Regions from separate parts of the Homo sapiens genome. Here region 1 is linked to region 2. Evidence: promoter capture Hi-C in 16 types of primary human blood cells and fetal thymus (Javierre and others, 2016). All regions are on one chromosome and are shown on one strand. The core of a region is centred on a gene start or on the middle of the fragment in contact, and the rest is flanking DNA. Distances in the headings are between cores, read along the strand shown. Region 1 has its middle 42 kb from the start of LINC01265. Region 2 holds the start of EGFLAM-AS1 (EGFLAM antisense RNA 1).

Region 1 (5,636 bases), core at 1,486-3,985, 250 kb before region 2:
TGTCTCTTTTCAGCACATTCTCGTTGGGAGGTCATATACTGACTCTAGTTGTCTTGTTTTTCCTCTAAACATTTGGAACTCCTCTCGCAGAATTGTCTTCAGAGCCTGCAGAGCATTTTTCTGAAAGTCCTACTCTGTGCCAAGTCTTCTTCCTTTGGGGTGGGATGGGGGATGGGAGTCAGTGGAAGACAGTGAATTTAATGATTTCTGGAAAGAGCCAAAAGTCATCCAGAGGCCAAGCTGGTCAATGGCATGAGTATAACCATTTGGGGTTAAAAAAAAAAAAGAAAACAAAAAGACTGTCTATAAAGTGTGGAGCCTGGCCCTGTCGTCCAGCCTGTGAAGTGATGATTTGAAGGCAGTCCTCCAAGAGGCGTTCCCAAGCAGTTTGGCCCATGACTGTCATTCTCTGAATAAATGTATAGAATCTTCAGAAGTGGCTACTTTTGAAGTAGTATTTCAAACACTCATTTTTATATGATCCAGAGTTTGGTTCACAAACCATCATCGTCATACATAGAGAAGAGTCATCATTTGCTGTGGATCTGGAATCAAGATAAAGACTGGTAAACACATTTTCTTGATAACACAGAGAAAAGAAAATAATTTGTTGTGAATGTCTTCATTGTTCTTCCTCCCCCCACCCCAAGCTTGGTTAGGATTCAACCATTGTTTATGCATCTACAGTATATGCCCTAATATAAGGCAATGTCAAATATGAGACACTCCCATTGCCCAAGTAAATGCTCCCCTTCCCGTCACCAAAAATTCTAGGAACATAGCTAAAAATCATGAATCATCTGCTTAAAAATAGTTAATGTATTAATTTAGTTATACACATATTATAAATCATTTTATATATACTTATAAAATTGATGTGTTAATATCGTTTTATATAAGCATATTAACTTTTTATTTTTTTGAGACAGGGTCTCACTCTGTCACCCAGGCTAAAGTGCCACTGCCATGATCATGTGAGACATGATCATGGCTCACAGTAGCCTCAGCCACCCCAGGCTCAAGTGATCCTCCCACCTTAGCCTCCCACATAGCTGGGACTATAGGTGCACACCACCATGCTCAGCTAATTTGTATATTTTTTTGTTGAGATGGAGTCTCACCATGTTGCCCAGACTGGTCTCAAACTCCTGGGCTCGAGAGAACTACCCACCTTGGCCTCCCAAAGTGCTGGCATTACAGGCATGAGCCCCCATGCCCAGTCCCATTTTATATATTATCTTATATTTCACATAAAGATATCTGGTAATTGACATATTTTTCCTCCATCATATCTCAATTTTATCCCAAGCCACAGCATAGTATTAGGACAGTTTTCTCTCATTCTTCCTGAAGTTGCATATTCTGAATGTTTACTATGCAATCACTTACTGTAATACTTCAAAAAAGTGATATTTAAAAGGCTCACTCACATTAACACCCATTCTTGAAAATGTAAGGCCATTCACCCAAATGAAAGAATGATTAAATATTTATCAAAGTTCACAAATCCTACTTATAGACATTCAAATCTAGCATTAATTCAGGGTGTTTCAGGATAATGTGTCTTCCCTGAAAAGAACTGTGTTATTCAAAATTAAATAGTGAAGAAAACATCCTATGATTGGTGCCAATGAAAATAAAATGGTTCCTTCTTTCCAAGAAGAAATTTTGGGACATCAGTACCTGGTATTTGACTGTAAGTAGAGTTACAGATTTGCTCTGTCACCCTAAAAAGATTGAACATCTTTTTTTTTTTTTTTTTTTTTTAAGACAGGATCTCACTGTGTCACCCAGGCTGGAGTGCAGTGGCGTGATCTCGGCTCATTGCAACCTCCACCTCCCAGGCTCAGGCAATTCTCCCACCAATTGAACATCTTTCTGTATTTTCATTTCTGTTGAAAGGGCTAAAACAGATAGCCAACAGAAGTCAGAGTTCACAGGAAGAATTGTGATTAGAAAGACAGTGCTGAATGGACACTGGTCACTCAGAAAGAGGGAGGGTGGAAAGAGGGCTAGGAATAAAAAAACTACTTATTGGGCTGGGCGCGGTGGCTCATGCCTATAATCTCAGCACTTTGGGAGGCCAAGGCAGGTGGATCGCGAGGTCAGGAGATCAAAACCATCTTGGCCAACATGGTGAAACTACGTCTCTACTACAAATACAAAAATTAGCTGGGCATGGTGGCGCATGCCTGTAATCGCAGCTACTCAGGAGGCTGAGGCAGGAGAATTGCTTGAACCAGAGAGTCGGAGGTTGCAGTAAGCCGAGATGGCACCACTACACTCCAGCCTGGTGACAGAACGAGACTCGGTCTAAAAACAAACAAACAAACAAAAAACACTACATATTGGGTACAATGTACAGTATTCAGTTGAGGAGTGCACTAAAGTCTGAGGCTTCATCACTATACAATTCATCCATGTTACCAAAACCCATGTGTACCCCCGAAGGCTATTGAAATAAAAAATATGTATAAAATAGGTAGGTATAGATAGACAGATAGATAGATATAGATAGATAAGTAGACAGACAGCTAGACAAAGACAGTTCTATAAACAGAGAACAGAATAGGTTTGTTTTCTTTTGGCATACAATAGGGAAAAAAACAAAACATAGTACAATTGTTTGCCCCTAGAGATGGGAATCAACATCTCTATGCACTGGATTACAAAGCAAGTACCAAAAAGCTCTGCATTTGTGTGTATGGAAAAAATAATAGAAAATAGCTGAAGGAGAGAGGGAGCAGAGAAGTAAGCCAAAAGGACAGGAATCTATTAATATTTAGTTAAATAATAACGCCCCTTGTACCAGCACATCATCGAGATTTTGGCTTAGGGTTTTTAAAAGATTTTCAGCTTTGGGGTTCTTATAAACTGTCCTGTTTTGATGCTAACCCTCATATAAACTGTCACTATCTTTATCATGGCTAAAGCCAATATTCTCATCCTGACTGGGTCGCCAGATATTGTATGGCCTTGGTGGCTGTTGGCTGTTCTCATGTATTCAAAACGGTTCATGGTGTTGACTCCTTTACAGGGACAGCAGTGTTCCATCTCATGTCAGGCTCCCTGCTGTTGGCAGCAGCTTGCTGGCTTCTACATTAGATTTTGGAGACAAAGAAATAAAGGCATTCTTCTGGAGAATGGGTGAAGAGCCTTAGTTATAAATTTCTCTCCTTCACCTGCTTTGCAGGGTCTCAAAATTATGGCCTTCAAAGTGCCATCCATAGCCTGCTGACTGGTTTAGTAAGCTGAATGAATCAGGGTTCTGCAGAGAAAACAGATTCAATAGAACCAATATACAAAGAGATTCACTGGAAGTTATTGGAACAAAATTATGGAGGCTGAAAAATTCCGTGATCTGCTGTCTGCAAGCTGGAGACCTAGGAGAGCCGGTGGTGTAGTTCAAAAGCCTGAAAGCCTGACAGTTAATGGTGTAGCTTCCAGCCTGCATCTGAAGGACGGAGATCCAAGAGGGCTGGGGGCCAGAGAAGATCGATATCCCAGCTCATACAGTCAAGCAGATACCAAATTTAATCTTCTTCTGTCTTTTTGTTCCATACTCACTGCATTGGATGATGCCCGCCACCCATCCCTTGCCCCAAATTAGAAAGGACCATCTGCTTTACTCGGTCCACCAACTTAAATGTGAATCTCTTCCAGAAACTCCCTCACAGATGCACCCAGAAATAATGGTTAACCACCTATTTGGGTATCTTTGACCCAATCAAGTTGACAAACAAAATTAACCATCACATATACCCTGATCCATAATCATCTGCATTGTGATTTCCTCTTCCCAACTCTGTAGGCACTTTTCCTTATAATCTCTGACAAGCACTGGCATGATTTGGAAACAGCATTATAGCCTTTAAAAAGAGCGGATGTGGATAAATAACCTTTTCTATTTCCTGTATTGTTTATTCCTTTCACAACACTCCATTGGCCAGAAATGTTGACATTTACATGGATTTAAACATGTCATGAATAAAAATTCCTTTTAGTCCCAGAAAAATGAGTTTGTATATATCTTCTAGAGCCCGAGGAGGTGATGAGGGGTAGTGGAAAAAGCTGGATGAGGAGTGAGTTGAGCTGTGGTCTTGTTTCAATCCCCAACCCCCCATCTGTGGACTGTAGGCAAGTCCCAGACTCCATCCTGTCATCCTGCCCCGCATTCATGGAATAAGAATTAACTCGTTCACCTCTCAGATTTTGTCAGGGTCTAGCATTCTTTGTTTACATGTAATAATGGCTGCTGGATACTGAGCACCTATCTGAACCAGAGACTTTGTGGGGACCTACAAAGGTCACCCTTTTAATTTACCCATCAGATCTGGAAGGTGAGGGCATTATTTACCAGTAAAGAAACTAAGGCTTAACAAGTTAAGCAACTATCCTAAGGAAGACACCTTCTCTTTGACTGGATCCTAATGAATGGGCTAATTCATTTCTGAAGAAGTGGAACAGAGGTTTCAGAACAGAGACAGAGATCAGCTGGAAGGGTTTCTCAACACACATTTTGTTTCTTTTCCTTACTTTGCTTTATCTTTCTTAGCCCTCAGGTGGGCAGAATTGAGTCAACTCTTCTTTTCATGACTCATTATCGACACTCGTCTATGTAAAGCCCCTCATATTATTTTCACATTTTTCCTCTTCATCTCCTGTATCACAACCCTCCTGCTATGTGCATTCACTATAGTGTATTTACTCTATGTCTTTGCAATCCACTTTCCCCGTGTTTATTTAGACAAATATGCCCTTGAAAAATAATGTTATTTAGTGTCAGTGGTTTTCATTTACATAAATGCTATGAAGCTTCTAATCTCATCCTTTTTTTCTTTTTGCACTCAACAGTGTATTTTGAGATCCCATCCGTGTTGCTCTGTGTAAATAAATCTTGTTCATTATGTGTGATGAACTCATAGTATTCCATACGTCATATCACATATTTTCCTTATCAATTTCCCTCATCAACAGACATGTAGATTGCCTTCAGATCGTTGTTACCACAAACAGTCTGGGATGTGCATCTTCTAATATGTCTTTGTACCCGCTGATATTCAATTTATTTGAATTGTATGCCCAGGAATTGGATTGTTGGCTCACAGTGTGTATGCAGTCATAATTTCACCAAGTTTTGCCAGGTTGCTTTCTAGAAAAGCTGCACCTCTTTAAGCTTCCCCTAGTCATGTATGAGGTTTACAACTCCCTGTATCCTCACTAGCACTTGTTATGGTCTGACTTTCTAATTTTTACCAATCTCTACATTTTAAATGGTGTATCATTTTTTATTTCATTTGTATTTATCTGGTTGCCAGTGAAGTAGAACATTCTTCATATAATTTTTAGCCATGTGGTTTTCTTCCTTTGATTGGCCTAGCCATACCTTTGCCCGTTTTTTTATTCTTGCTGTTTCCTAACTTTGCTGGTTTGCAGAATTATGACTTTCTAATTTGCCTGATTACCTCATAGGGTGAATTTTTCTCCCCAAATTCCTGCTTTGAACTTCACTTTCAATATTGACTTAACTGCATTAACAAACGTTTCTTATATTTTAACTATATACTTTATATAGATATAAATTTTAAAACAATTATTTTTCTGCTGTAGTTGGCAATAGCTTCTTTTAGTCTGCC
Region 2 (6,306 bases), core at 724-3,223:
TAGAATTTAATCACCTTGGCTAAATCAATATGCAATAAAGAAATAAGCAGCCCTTTTTAAGTGGTCTATCTCCATAACAGAGCCATTTCATGTTTTTGTACTGCAGAGGTCATTTGCTGTCAATATGCCACCTTCCTCAACATCCTTTTATCGATCACAGCCATCAAGAACTCATTCCAATTGTCGTGATTTTTTAATCAAGTTCATAATGAATTTGCCCATCTTATCCTATTCCTAAAGTTAAAATGATCTGGCCAATTCCACAACTTCCTGTAGTTTGAGTTTTCACTGCATTGTCTTAATTGAGCAAGAAGTCTTTGAAATGGTTTTCAAAATAAACAGCTTCCAATGGGGCATCTGAAACACCAAGAGTAATCACTGTTGTTAGCTTACGCTCAGGAGGGGATAGGATAAGGGGGCAGATGGTGGTTTGTCCCTCAGAAACTCTTGCCTCATTTTCATCACCTAATTCTTAAAAATTCTTTTTCCAGTTGCCTTTGCTGACAGGCAGTGAAACAATAACTTAGTAAATTTACAAAAAAAAATTAAAAGCACCTCGTGTCAAAAATAAGCACAGAGTTATGAAAGAGAGAAATGCTGGACTTCTAAGGGTTCCATGTGCTTGTGACCCCACAGCTGGAGCTGCCACTGCAGAGAGGCAGTGTGGAGGGGGTAGTCTGTCCAGGAGGAGGGCTGATGAGCCCAGAACCTCTCCTGGATCTTTCTGGTCATTCCCTATCCAGGAAGAAAACCATTTAAAAGTGCAAGGTGATATTCAAGGTGTCTTCCTTTGTCAACTTGACATACAGTTCTAAGTGAATTGCTTAGGCTATTTTGCATAATCATATGTAAATTGAATCAATTAAATCCCCACCAAAGTTGTCTTGAAATATAGGATGTTTTTGCATAACCAGAGGTACAACAATATTTGTCCGTTCCCCTAGAGGGGAAGGTGTCACTGATGTGCAGGAATTCAGCCACAAGGACAAAAACAAACCATCCTTTTTAAGAACTGTTAAAACCTAATGCAGTGAGCATTTTCTATCAGCCAGGAAAAATGATCAGTAGTTAAGGGCAATGCATGGTTGTAGCATCTCACCTACATACTCTTTTTAAACATGACAGTCTAGCAATATGGATAAAGATTGAAAACAGTTTGCAATATTCTTTGAAACAACAGACTAACTGATACCCTGTTACAGGGCACCATGGAGCAAAACATCCTAGTGAGTTTCAAAAAAGACGAATTAGACAAATGTAGGAACAAGAAGCATGTCTGCATGCGATTAGTGGCCCCTCTGGCTTGAAGGTTAAAACTACCATCAACACAATAAAAAGATGGGAGACATAAACAAATAAAAGCGTCTGCATCTACCAACTACAGGCTCCAAGGAACAATCGACCTGCTAAGTAATTTAATAGTACAAACTAGATAACAGTAGGAAAGTTTTGACTACTTACACCAATTCTGCAAATACCAGCAAGTACTGCAGAAGCACCCATTTCCTGCTATGCTATTGAAACCACTCATCACACATCTTTCTTGAGCATATTGCTTAGGGAACGGGTCTCTGCATTGCTGATGATTCACTGTCAATTTCCATTAAAGAAATAGTTCAAGAGGAAAGTGAATATTTAGAGTGAGGTCATCAAGGATATTTTTGTTCAAAAATATTTGTTAATACTTTTTTACTAGTTGACATGTATTTGCTGGGTGCCCATCATGTGATGCTCTGTATGAGATGCTGACTAGTTACAGTTCATCAAGTTTCTGCGGATGACATGACATAACTTTAGGTGGAAATGGAGGCAGTTTACCTCCACCTGAAGCAAGTCCATTTTCCATAGTTTGAAGCATACAATTGCTACCTGTTGGGTAGTTATTTGAGAAAAGGAAGCCTTGTGGGCAGGAGAGCACTCTCTATAGGAAGCCTGTCATCTGCCTGAAGCAGGACAAGTCAGGACAAGTTTCAGAAGATAAGCATGTAGAGAAGACAGGATGAGTGTGAGCTGTTGAATGGCGATTTGGTTTTTTTCTGAAGCAGTTACTATTTGCCTTTTTAAGGGAAAGAGTCCCAGAAGTTTTCAGCCCTCACCTGAGGACACCGGTCCCAGAGCCACAGTCAAAGCGGAACTCCACGTGGCCCCCTGCCAAGTTGATGGACAGGAAGTCTTTGCTGCCTGTGTCATAGCTGTACAGGAGGACACCATCTCCTGAGTCTGGCCGAAATGTGATCTCAAATTCCATGAAGGAAAGGTAATGCTGGGGCTCCAGTGGCCAGGGAGTTGCAGCGTAAGATCTCAGAGACTCTCTGAACTGAGGAATGGTCAAGGTGAAAGCTGAAAAAACAAGCATGGTGTTAGAAATCCCTCTGTGGCAGAAACTGGCCAGATGTGCACCCATAGCTGTGTTCTTTCCCTCCTGGGTACAGACCTAAACTACAATTCCCAGCAGCCCTGCAGTTAGGTTGGTGGTGTGACTGAATTCTGGCCAGTAGAACATGGGTGGAAGAATCATAGAGCACCCTAAGTCTGGCCCCTAAAACTTCCCTCCATCCTCCATGCTCTTTCTCTCCTCTCACGTGCTGGCAGGATGCAAGTATCAGTGGAGGACTCTAAGGCCCTAGAAGAGCCATTAGATGGAAGGAAACTGTGTCCCTGTATAACTGTGTGGAGCAGAACCCCCTCTCTCACCACCATCTTTGACCTGCAGTGATTTTGTAATATGAGCAAGAACCAGCCTTGATTATGTAAGGCTACTGAAATATGAGCTGGTATGTAACAGCATTGGCTTACCCTGACTCACATGCCCTCTTTTAGGTGACATGAGATTTGAGATCACAAAAGTTTTCCCCAATATGGTATCTTAGGTCCAAATCTGAATTAGGGAAGAATTTGACTAGTTTTGTGATCTTAGCCTCAGTTTTATTTTCTTTTTATTTTAATTTCAGAATTCTGCAAAAATGATTTTCCAAAATCACTTTTGGAACCCTCCATGATTTTCCAAAATCTTTGAAATTTTCTGTTATTATTTGCCTGTGTGAGCGCACATATGTGTATTTGTGTGCATGTGTTTCCATGTTTATATACACATGTGTGTGCATGTATATATATTTACATACTCTCTGTATATACAGTATTAAAATGTGGCATAATTTAGTAGAACAGTACAAAAAAAGGTTACTTTTGTCCCATCACATTGTTAACGTTTCTGTGTCTACCTTCCCTATCTTTTTTTTTTTTCCCAAGATGGAGTCTCGCTCTGTCACCCAGATTGGAGTACAGTGGTGCTATCTCGGCTCACTGCAACCTCCGCCTCCTGGGTTCAAGCAATTCTCCTGCCTCAGCCTCCCGAGTAGCTGGGATTACAGCTGTGCACCACCACACCCAGCTAATTTTTGTATTTTTAGTAGAAACGGAGTTTCACCACGTTGGCCTCGTGATCCGCCCACCTCGGCCTCCCAGAGTGCTGGGATTATAGGCGTGAGCCACTGCGCCTGGCCTCATCTTCCCAATCTTTTATCAGAAATTGACAGAAATTCTAAAGAGCATGAGCCTGAGCTTTAAAGGCTTTGAATTCAGTCTGATACAAACCATACCAATACAGGCTTTTTAAAAGTTATTCAAGGGCCAAGAGGAGCCCACTGATTCTTAGCATCTTGAAATGAACATATGTTTGGCTGAGGGACGGAGGTGCCCTGCAGTAAGAAGTGCTGAAAGGCTCAACATCAGATGAGTGAGTTCTCATTACCAAACAAATTTTGGCACTCAGAGACACTCCAACCTTGTTTAAAAAGTTTCCCCCATCTCTCCCAACAAAGCAATGTTGATCCCATAAAAATGTATGGGGCTTTGTTAGATTTGTTAAAAGTACATTGATGAGGCCTGGCGTGGTGGCTCACGCCTGTAATCCCAGCACTTTGGGAGGCCGAGGCGGGTGGATCACTTGAGGTCAAGAGTTTGAGAGCAGCCTGGGCAACATGGTGAAATCCCATCTCTACTAAAAATACAAAAATTAGCTGGGCGCCTGTAGTTCCAGCTACTCGGGAGCTGAGGCAGAAGAGAATCACTTGAACCCGGGAGGCAGAGGTTGCAGTGAGCCGAGATGCGCCACTGCACTCCGGCCTGGGTAAGAGAGGGAGCCTTTGTCTCAAAAACAAACAAACAAATTAACAAAGAAACTATATTGATGATAAAGTACATCTACACAAATTAACATGCAGATAGAAACCGCCTTCAACTTGCTTCTTTCTCACCATCTTCACAGTGTCGACCTTTAAACCCAAGGGGACAGAGGCAAATGTAGGAGTCGGCTTTGATTGCTGTGCAGGTGCCACCATGGATGCACGAGGCCTCATCACAGATTCCACTGCTGCATTCCCCTAAATACAGAATGGGAATTACAAAGCCAATCCTCCATGTGTGCCAGTCCAACACAGTGGCGCTGACCCCACCAGCAGCTCATGGTTCTGAATAAATACATTTCAGTTCTTACTCCTGTTGATTTGCAGCTCTGCACAACTGCAAATGGGCTTTCAGGATAAGTGGAACCTGCTCTTCATTTTAATTTGATTTTGGTTTGTCCTGTATGAAGAGCCATAGAGACTTTAAAAAACATGATGGACACAATAAATCAAATAATACATTTCTGGGCAATTTTATGACCACTAACTGGGATGACTAAGCTGTTTCTGCTTTAATTCATCTCTCTCTTGCTCCCAACAGAGCATATTTCAATCCCTCCAATGTCAACAGGGTGTTTATGTTAAAAGCATTCTAAATTGCATGACCCCAATTAGCTTAAGTGCTGCTGCCTTGTTGGTTCAAAGTTGAGACAAGCAAGGTAGGCACAGAAGGAGTTACCCAGCCACGTCTAAGCTGATTAACTCACCTGGATTGTCAACTTCTCTGTCTGGGGTAGGGAGCAGGGAGGGAGGGCCCCATAATACATTGGCACATGGGTTTCAGAATCCCTATTTCTACTTCCAAAGTTACACCCTGATGAGGGACAGAAAGGTGGCCTGTGGTAAGAAGGCTGAAAGGCTCAACATCTGATGAGTGAGTTCTCTTCACCAAACAGATCAGAGAGATCCAGAAAGGGTATCCTTTGTCATTTTCAAGTGCAGGTCATCAGAGGAAAACAAATGGACTTTTCATGGGCTGTTTTTCTTCTGCTTCTTTGTGTTTTCTCTTTGTGTGTAAGAAATCAGTTAGACAGATGGACCACCATCTGGCCCAGAACCACATGAGGGAGTACAAAACACTTTTTCTGGGGGTGGAGGTAGAAGGGCGTGCCTCTGGAAGTGAAGGGTCCAGCTGTGCTCTCTCCCAGTCTTCAAGGCTGCCCTCTGCATGAGCTGGTAGCCCACCCTGTGAGGGCAGGAGCCCTCCTTGGCCTGAGTGTGTCATCTCGGCAGGATGAATCTCTCACCCTTCCCTCCTTGAATTGGTCCAGTCTTTTCATAAAGACTCACTGGGAGGAGGGGTAAAGGCCAGGCACCCAGGTTAGACCCAGGAGAGGAGACTGACTTCAGGGACTGCTAACAGAATTTGATTAAAGCCCGTGCAGATGGCTTGCCTCCCCAGCTGGGGGTGGCTAGCCTCTGTGAATTCCAGCTGGTGGCTACTGAATGTTCAGGCAGACATGACCAGTGGTCTCCAGCCACAGCCCTAAGAATGTCACCCCCAGCATTCACAGCCTCCACAGAGATGCTGGCTGACTTTGATCTTAAAGAGCCAAACTCTCAAAGGTCCCTGAGCCCCGCCAATTTCTGTGGGTTGTGATTCCTTCCCAGAGCTTGGCTGGATCCACAGGAAGAAGCGGGATCCTTGTATGTTATTTTAGATGTACAGAAAAGGATTACATTACAAGTCTTATGCATTTTAACCATTTTTTAAGAGGTGGGGGTAGGGGAGGGGAGGTCATGAAAGCCAGATGGAGTTGCTGACTTGGTGAAAGCAGCATTTCAACAAGATTACTCTGGGAATGGCATGCAAAACAGACTGGTGAGTGATAGGAGTGGAGGAGATGAAAAAACTCCTATAGGGAGTGAACAGGATGGCCACAAAGAAAATGGAGAGACTGTGAAGGATCAGACATCCAAGGAAGTAAGAAATGAGAGATTCATTCTAGAGGCTGAAAGGCAAGAACACTCCTCCAGCACAATCTCAAGGTTTGTAGCTTGAAAGACTAAAATAATGGTGCAGGAGGGAAGAAATGAGAGTGGCTGTGAACAGGACCTGGCTTCTGCAAAGCAAAGGGAGAGGTTGCTTTGGTTGGATTTAAGTCTAAGGTGACTGTGGAAA

Evidence for each region. The method cuts DNA at HindIII sites, captures the fragments that hold promoters and counts their contacts. A CHiCAGO score of 5 or more calls a contact.
Region 1: a fragment that was not itself captured here is called in contact with the fragment with the promoter of EGFLAM-AS1 in region 2 in 1 of 17 cell types (endothelial precursors); the score reaches 5.0 in endothelial precursors.

Annotation. Positions count from the first base shown.
Region 1 is chr5:38,675,233-38,680,868 of GRCh38, reverse strand. No RefSeq gene overlaps it. Among named protein-coding and RNA genes, the nearest start is that of LINC01265, 42 kb to the left of the region's middle. The HindIII fragment of the contact is 4,165 bases long and covers 653-4,817 here.
Region 2 is chr5:38,423,043-38,429,348 of GRCh38, reverse strand. It overlaps EGFLAM-AS1 (EGFLAM antisense RNA 1), which reads left to right and starts at 1,973. Exons shown (of 2, transcript NR_046737.1): 1 at 1,973-2,257; 2 at 4,268-4,494. EGFLAM (EGF like, fibronectin type III and laminin G domains) reads right to left here. Exons shown (of 22, transcript NM_152403.4): 13 at 4,257-4,382; 14 at 2,097-2,340. RefSeq lists an enhancer at 1,552-2,751. The HindIII fragment of the contact is 14,108 bases long and covers 1-6,306 here.